2 separate regions of the Homo sapiens genome follow, and region 2 is linked to region 1. Evidence: promoter capture Hi-C in human tissues and cell types (Jung and others, 2019). All regions are on one chromosome and are shown on one strand. The core of a region is centred on a gene start or on the middle of the fragment in contact, and the rest is flanking DNA. Distances in the headings are between cores, read along the strand shown.

What was found. The method cuts DNA at HindIII sites, captures the fragments that hold promoters and counts their contacts. A contact is called where the count stands out against the background at its distance.
Region 2: a contact is called between a fragment that was not itself captured here and the fragment with the promoter of RXFP2 in region 1, in 1 of the 25 tissues and cell types used here (bladder).

The regions. Positions count from the first base shown.
Region 1 is chr13:31,737,551-31,742,106 of GRCh38, reverse strand. RXFP2 (relaxin family peptide receptor 2) reads right to left here and starts at 2,581. Exons shown (of 18, transcript NM_130806.5): 1 at 2,401-2,581. The coding sequence starts at 2,494. The HindIII fragment of the contact is 13,582 bases long and covers 1-4,556 here.
Region 2 is chr13:31,690,821-31,695,378 of GRCh38, reverse strand. No RefSeq gene overlaps it. Among named protein-coding and RNA genes, the nearest start is that of RXFP2, 46 kb to the left of the region's middle. The HindIII fragment of the contact is 7,438 bases long and covers 1-4,558 here.

The DNA.
Region 1 (4,556 bases), core at 1,332-3,831:
AAGAAATGTTTTTTAAAAGTTTAAAGTTATGTTTAATAACTTTATTTTAGAGATGTTTACTCTTAGAGACAGATACTGTTTTTAGATCTGCCTGTGGCTTTGGAGTTCCCAGTCTAATTACGTTAACGCAAGATAGTTACTAACAATTACATGAATTTTATGGACATATTTCAACAGGTTGAAATTCCACAAAACACAATTGGTAGTTACCAAGTAGCAGTCTCAATACTTCATGCTTTTAATTTCCTACATAAGCCCATGTTTTTGATATGTAATATGGTTCCTAATTTGTCCATTAAGAAATGTTTTTTAAAAAGTAGTTTGAAGCTGGTTAACAGAGATACACAGTGAATAAATTAATGATAAAACACACGTAATAATAATAAGATACATTATGCATAGTTGTCTGTTAGTGCCTGTAGCTTAAGGCAATCACTCATTCCTTAGGCACTCCAGAGTGATGATGGTCAGAGAAGAAAAGACGATCACATAATTTCTAATTTTATGTTTTGTTTAGATCTGGCCTAAGAGTCTATCACAAATATTATTTAAATTAAAAAGACAACCTTTACTCTTAGGCAACTCTAAATGAGCTTTCTTTGGTTACTATGAAAAGCCTTACCGTTTTAATTGTCCACAATTTTGTTGTGAAAAAGAAAAGAGTTTTACTAATTATAGAGCAAATTCTATTATTTTTATAAGTAGGAATAAAATGTCAAAGCATTGATTAATGTGTCTTGCTTTGAAAAGAAATCATTTTAAACATAAAGGTTTAAATTAGTAGTCAAAAGTAATATAAAATTAGAAAATAAAAATTTCCAGGATTATAATCAATAAATATTTGTTAGGTTGGTACTAGGAGTTTGAAATATGGCTTTTACTTAGAAATAAAATCAAACAAAAATTATTAATTGAACTTTTTTTTAGTTTAAAGGGTGACTTTACATTATGGTAAATCACAAAATGTTATTTTAGTAATAGATGTTTTTCATCTCATAAACGGTTTAAGCAAAATCAATTAAATGCATTATGTATAAAAGCAAAAGTATAGTAAAATTGGTTAAACTGTGGTTATAGTCCCGTACATTAAAGAACTTTTTAAGGGCACAGATGAGCTCTATGACATGTCTTAAGAACCTGCTTTGTAGCTGTATATTCTTAAAATTGTATAAAATTGAATATTCAAATGTGGATAGAACATGAACTTCTGAAGTAGGACCTTAAATATAGAAATAGACTGCTTGTTGCAACTGTACTGCATGCAAGGTGAGTTCATATATTGTTTCTTCTTAGTTAATCCTTAGCTTTTCATGTAAGAGATATTAAAATATAAAATAAAAGTCATGCTAGGTGCATGGAGATATAGATTTTAAATATTTGTAGTAAAGTTTTAGTATTATTTTAAATTCAAAATAAAATTTAGATATTTTAAGCCTTTTAAAAATCTTTTGTTTGTTAGAAGTTTTAAAATAATTCCTCATAAGTATTGCATTTTATTTCAAGATTTAAAATATTCACTTGGAATTCACCTAATAAAACTGAATATTTAAAAAACCTAAAACGAATTTCTCAGAAAATAAAAATAATTTCAAATTTTAACCTTTATTCTCAGAGGTTTATCAAAATTCTTTAAGAAAAAATACAAATTAAAATAGAAACATTTTTGAATAATAATAAACCCCAGCAAATCTTGGGTGTGGTTAATAGGTTGTTTATGAATGTATAGGCTGACAACGTATCTTTTTATTTAAAAACAAGTGAAGATTTAGGTTTTATTTTTTGGTGAGCTTTACAATGAAAATGGTACTGACTTGAAACTTAAGAGTTTGACTGAAATAAAAATTTCCACAAATTAAAAACAAAAGAAAATTATCTAAGTAAATGCACTTGTATAGACTTTTAATAACTTTATTTTAGAGAGGTTTACTCTTAGAGACAGATACTGTTTTTTAGATCTGCCTGTGGCTTTGGAGTTCCCAGTTTAATTATGTTCACGCAAGATAGTTACTAATAATTACTTGAATTTTATGGGCATATTTCAACAGGTTGAAATTCCACAAAACACAATTTTAGTTTATTAATTTGTCACACTTTTCAGAACAAATGCCAAAAATGTTTTCTATGTTTTAATTGATATAGTCAACATTGTTTTTTGACATATTTTATCTACAGCTTTAATAACATACAAAGGCTTGTTTCCATGAAAAATTTGTTGCATCTAAAAATTACTAGGCTGTGTGGGACTACAAGCAATGAAAGATAATGACAAATACCAGGCAAATTTGATGTCTGTTTTTTTTTTAAACACCCCAATATATTTATTACAACTGCCATAGAACTACATAGAAATGTATTTTTTGGGAATTGCACTCATTTAAAACGAGAAAGTAGCAACCTTACCTTTGACATTGATCAGAACGATGAAATGAAGTAGAAAGAACATTGTAATCAATCTGAGGCTGAAGAGATGTTTAAAAACCAGAAAAACAATCATAGGTTTACAGCAATTGAGTTATTAGACGTATCCTCTTATACCTCAGCAGGAGTTCTGATGTAGTAAGTTCAGTGCCTCCCATGTTCTGAGCATGCTCACAGCTAGAACCTCACTGGCATGAAGGGAGATGGATTCTTGTCACTATGCAGCCTGTCTTTTTTGTTCTTTCTTTTTTGTTTCTTTTAGTTTAAATCTACAGTTGTGTTCTTGATCACTAATTCATTATGGTGTGTAAAAGAAGGTATAATAGGACTTTGGTATTATCTGATAAGAAATATTTTTTAATCACTTAAAAATTTTTTTCCTCCAAAGCATGTACAATTTGCTCTGTTTAAATCCAAACATCGAAGTTCTCAAATATGAAGGATATAGGCTTACACTGAATAGGCTATGAAACCCTTTACAATTATATTTTCATGCAATAAACAAATGTAAAAAACTACTTATTGACAGATACACAAAGAACACCCACTTCTATTCAAATGTACCTAAATGTTTTCAAATGACATATGAAAAGATAATTTAAATATATGGCATTGTGTTAAATAATTACTGTAAAACATTCATACAATATTTTCACTTCACATACTTCCCGCATAATCATATTCCTTTTTCTTGAAGTGAATAATTTTATTCTTGCTTCCAGCTCTGTATTGCACACCTATTAGAAAACACTAATTATAATTTAGTTCTTACATCCTGAAAGCAGCTTTCTCAACAGCATAGTTAGTACAAGTTAAAAGTATAAAAATTGACTTTTGGTTGTAGGATTCTGTTGATCCTAGTGTAATCATTAAGACTTCTCCAAAAAGATGTAGAATTTCCATGTCTGAGTTTATATTTTACTAACAGGGAAATATCTATCTAGAATACAGTTTGTAGTTCTGATTTGAAGAGAAGATTTTGTGACTGAACGATGCAGATTCTCTTATATGTTGTCGTTAACTGTGTCCTAACAACACTGAAAAAAACTACCTTGTGGTGACTATTATCGTCACAAATCATAAAACACGGGGTTTTCCTTGTTCTTTCTTTCATTCTAGCCTTTGAGAGAACAAGGATTCAAACAGAATGTACAATAAAAAATACTTTATTTATCACATAATGTATTTAGTTCTTTTCTCTTTTTAAGAAGTGAGTTAAGTTCTCTAAGACACCTCCCAGACATATTTATATGTGGTCTCATCTGATCTTTCAAATCAAAAGAAAAAGCAACAGAGAGAATAAAGATGAAAAGAAATACTTCAGGATCTTTTCTTACATTTCAAGCATCTTTTTTTCCCTCACTAACCTCAAGGTCTTTTTAGGTAAAAATTGCCTTATTTCACTTAAAGGAATGATTAGTTTTTCTTACGTTTTGTGTTTTGCTGTCGAGATGATGGATGCTAGTTTCTGGTACTGAAATTTTGAGCATGAGTTTTTAAGTGCAATTAAATACCATCATAAGTCTATTTGAAGTATAAATATATTTTCTATGAAAATGTAATTTTTGGAGAAATAAGAAATGTCAAGATGTCAAAGAAATTAGTTAAGATTTATTCATGATATCGAGCCCTAGCAATAGATTTACATTGCCAAAAAGTTGAATCGTTATTCCTTTCTGTTAGGCTTTTCAATGTTAATCTTTGAAATGTATTAACACAAACTTTCAGAAATCAATAATTATAAATAATAGGAACATCTTTGGCTCACTGGTTTTTAAAGGTAGAGCATGCAAGCTTTGAAATACCATTTCATTTAATATGTTTTAACTTTGACTTATCTGGTGTGAATATCCAGCCTTTTGCACCGAAACTGAAATGATTGACATGTACACAGGGATATAATGTATGTGTTTAAATAAGAGTGAATGAATGTAGTCTATTCTTAAAGCCACAGTTGGTAAGGAGGTTCCAAGGAGTGCTTCATGCAGAGCTGAGATGAAAGACTTGTGCAAACTGATTCTCACTCGATAGTAACTTCGAATCTGCGCAAGTGTTTTTTATTGATCCTTGCCTGAATCAGCTCATCCCTTCATTCCAGTCACCTGTTGGTAGGACCCATACTTTTAGCAGTAATACTA
Region 2 (4,558 bases), core at 1,601-4,100, 47 kb after region 1:
TAGTTTCATTTGATGGTGTATTGTTTCCCTGATTTTTTATGATCCTTGTATCCTTGCACTGGTGTTTGCACATCTGAGGAAGCAGCTACCTCTTCTAGCCTTTATGGGTTCACTTTGGCAGGGATAGACCTCCGTCAGTTAGTCCATCCTGGGGTTCTTGGTAGGCCAGCTCTTAGTATATGTAGGCAGGTGGAGCTTGCTGTAAGATTCTTTAGGTGGGTGGGGCTCCTCCCCATGCTTTGAGGTGAGATGGGTTCTGGCTGGGCTTCAAGCTAAGGCAGGGCTACTGTTTGGCTCCCTAGTTGGGTGGAACCTCTGACTAGACTTTGCAGTCAGGAAGAGTCCTTCACAGGGATCGACAATCCTTGTCTGAGTGCATTGCACGCTGTGCTCCTTGGCTGGGTGGTGCCATTGGTTGGACTCTACAATTGGTTGGAAAGGTAGGCTGGGTTCCACAAATGCTCTTGGTCAGGTGGGGCTCCAGGCTGTGCACCATGGCTGGCTTCTGCCAGTGGCTGAACTGTGCATTCAGGCAAGGTTGCAGCCTGGGCTCCACAAACAGAGACTCAGGCTACAGCCTTCTGTTGAGTGAAGTCACTGGGTAAGTTTCTTATTTTTGATGATTTTGACAGTTTTGAGAATTACCGATCAGGTATTGTGTATAAGGCCCTCAATTGAAATCTTTCACACATTTTTAATGATTAAAAATGTAGTCAGGGAGAGTGACATCAGTAAAATGACAAAGTAGAAGTAATTGGAATCCACTCTTCCCCACAGAAAGCCAGTCAACAACTATTCAGCGGCAGTAATATTACCCAGAGTATCTGAGAGCTTAAAACCGGGGCTGTGATGATCCCTCGGGCACAGAGCAAAGACAAATCAGGAGCAGATCATAAGGAAGATGAGTCTTTTTAACCACAATGCCCTTTCCCCAAGCTGGTAAAGTATTACATGTGAAAAAGAACTCATGGTTTTTATAACGGAAAAAGTGAGTTAGAGCTACTATTCACAATAGGCAAAATATGGAATCAACCTAAGTGTCCATCAATGGATGAATGGATTAAAAAATGTGGTTTATACGAATGTCCATCAATGATAGACTGGATTAAGAAAATGTGGCACATATACACCATGGAATAAATCATTCTACTATATAGGCATATGCACATGTATGTTTATTGTGGCACTGTTCACAATAGCAAAGACTTGGAACCAACCCAAATGCTCATCAATGATAGACTGGATAAAGAAAATGTGGCACATATTCACCATGGAATACTATGCAGCCTAAAAAAGGATGAGTTCATGTCCTTTGCAGGGCCATGGATGAAGCTGGAAACCATCATTCTCAGCAAAATAACACAAGAACAGAAAACCAAACACCACATGTTCTCATTCATAAGTGGGAGTTGAACAATGAGAACACATGCACGTGTACCACAGAATTTAAAGTATAATAATAAAAAAAAGTTTCTATGTCTACTTTGGAAACAAATACTTTCTCAGGTATGTGTTTTGTAAATATTACTCCTATTGTATATTTTCTTATTCTCTTAACAACTTCTTTCATAGAGCAGGATACTTTAATTTTAATGGAATTCTGTTGTGGTGGTATGCTCTGATTCTTTTCTCTTAATATTTTTATTATCTACTACAGGTTTTATTCTTGGTGATTACCATGAAAATTACATAAAATATATTACAGCCAGCCAGGCACAGTAGTTCACACCTGTAATCTCAGCACTTTGGGAGGCCAAGGTGGGTGGATCACTTGAGGTCAGGAGTTTCACATAATGGTGTCTCATAAGTCCTATAAGACTTCTTTACTCTTTTTTATTCCTTTTTAAAAACCATTCCTCTGATTGGATAATTTCAAAAGACCTGTCTTAGAACTAACCCAAATGCCCATCAATGACACACTGGATAAAGAAAGTGTGGAACATATACACCATGGAATACTATGCAGCCATAAAAAAGGATGAGTTCATGTCCTTTGCAGGGACATGGATGAAGCTGGAAACCATCATTCTCAGCAAAGTAGCACAAGATCAGAAAACCAAACACTGCATGTTCTCACTCATAAATGGGAGTTGAACAATGAGAACACAGGGACACAGGTTGGGGAACATCACACACTGGGGCCTGTCAGGGGGTGGAGGGCTAGGAGAGGGATAACATTAGGAGAAATACCTAATGTAGGTGACAGGTTGATGGGTGCAGCAAACCACCATGGCACATGTATACGTATGTAACAAAGCTGCATGTTCTGCACATGTACCCCAGAACTTAAAGTATAATAAAAAAATGTGGTTTATATACACAAAGGGGTACTATTCAGCCATAAAGAAGAATGAAGGAAAGTAGGGGCGACTCACAACCAAAGGAGCCCAAAAAGACATGACAAATAAATGTGATGTGATATCTGGGATGGAATCCTGCAACAGAAAAATGAAGTTAGGAAAAAATTTTCTCCCATTCTGTAGGTTGCCTGTTCACTCTGATGATAGTTTATTTTGCTGTGCAGAAGCTCTTTAGTTTAATTAGATCCCATTTGTCAATTTTGGCTTTTGTTGCTATTGCTTTTGGTGTTTTAGTCATGAAGTCTTTGCCCATGCCTATGTCCTGAATGGTATTGCCTAGGTTTTCTTCTATGGTTTTTATAGTTTTAGGTTTAACGTTTAAGTCTTTAATCATACTGAGTTAATTTTTGTATAAGGTGTGAGGAAGGGGTCCCGTTTTTGTTTTCTTATTGAGAGTTTTTAGCATGAAGCGGTGTTGAATTTTATCAAAGGCCTTTTCTGCATCTATTCAAATAATCATGTGGTTTTTGTCATTGGTTCTGTTTATGTGATAGATTATATTTATTGATTTGCATATGTTGAACAAGCCTTGCATCCCAGGGATGAAGCTGACTTGATTGTGGTGGATAAGCTTTTTGATGTGCTGCTGAATTCAGTTTGCCAGTACTTTATTGAGGGTTTTTGCATTGATGTTCGTCAGGGATATTGGCCTGAAATATTTTGTTATTGTGTCCTGCCAGGTTTTGGTATCAGGATGACACTGGCCTCATAAAATGAGTTAGGGAGGATTCCTTCTTTATCTATTGTTTGTAATAGTTTCAGAATGAATGGTACCAGCTCCTCTTTGTACCTCTGGTAGGATTTGGCTGTGAATCCATCTGGTCCTGGGCGTTTTTTGGTTGGTAGGCTATTAATTACTGCCTCAATTTCAGAACTTGTTATTTGTCTAATCAGGGTTTTGACTTCTTCCTGGTTTAGTCTTTGGAAGGTGTATGTGTCCAGGGATTTATCCATTTCTTCTAGATTTTCCATTTTATTTGCATAGAGGTGTTTATAGTATTCTCTGATGGTAGTTTATATTTCTGTGGGATCAGTGGTGATATCACCTTTATCATTTTTTATTGTGTCTATTTGATTATTCTCTCTTTTCTTCTTTATTAGTCTGGCTAGTGGTCTATCTATTTTGTTAATCTTTTCAAAACACCAGCTCCTGGATTCATTGATTTTTTAAAGGGTTTTTCTTGTCTCTGTCTCCTTTGGTTCTGCTCTGATCTTAGTTATTTCTTGTCTTCTGCTAGCTTTTGACTTTGTTTGCTTTTACTTCTCTAGTTCTTTTCATTGTGATTTTAGTGTGGCGGTTTTAGATCTTTCATGCTTTCTCCTGTGGGCATTTAGTGCTATAAATTTCCTTCTAAACATTGCTTTAGCTTTGTCTCAGAGATTCTGGTACATTGTGTCTTTGTTCTCATTGGTTTCAGAGAGCTTCTTTATGCCTTAATTTGGTTATTTACCCAGTAGTCATTCAGCAGCAGGTTATTCAGTTTCCATGTTGTTGTGTGGTTTTGAGTGAGTTTCTTAATCCTGAGCTCTAATTTGATTGCTCTGTCGTCTGAGAGACTGTTTGTCATGATTTCCATTCTTTTGCATTTGCTGACGAGTGTTTTACTTCCAATTATGTGGTCGATTTTAGAATAAGTGCCATGTGGTGCTGAGAAGAATGTATATTCTGTTGATTTGGGGTGGAGTGTTCTGTAGATGTCTATTAGGTCCACTTGGTCCAGAGCTGAGTTCAAGTCCTGAATATTCTTGTTAATTTTCTGTCTTGTTGATCTGTCTAATATTGACAGTGGGGTGTTAAAGTCTCCTACTTTTATTGTGAGGGAGTCCAAGTCTCTTTGTAGCTCTCTAAGAACTTGTTTTATGAATCTGGGTGCTCCTGTATTGGGTGCATATATATTTAGGACAGTTAGCTCTTTTATTTGCATTGATCCATTTACCATTATGTAATGCCCTTCTTTGTCTTTTTCGATATTTGTTGGTTTGAAGTCTGTTTTATCAGAGACTAAGATTGCAACCCCAGCTTTTTTTTTTTTTTTGCTTTCCGTTTGCTTCGTAAATATTCCTCCATTCCTTTATTTTGAGCCTATGTGGGTCTTTGCACATGAGATGGTCTCCTGAATACAGCACACTGATGGGTTTTGACTCTTTATCCAATTTGCCAGACTGTGTCTTTTAATTGGGGCATTTTGCTCATTTAC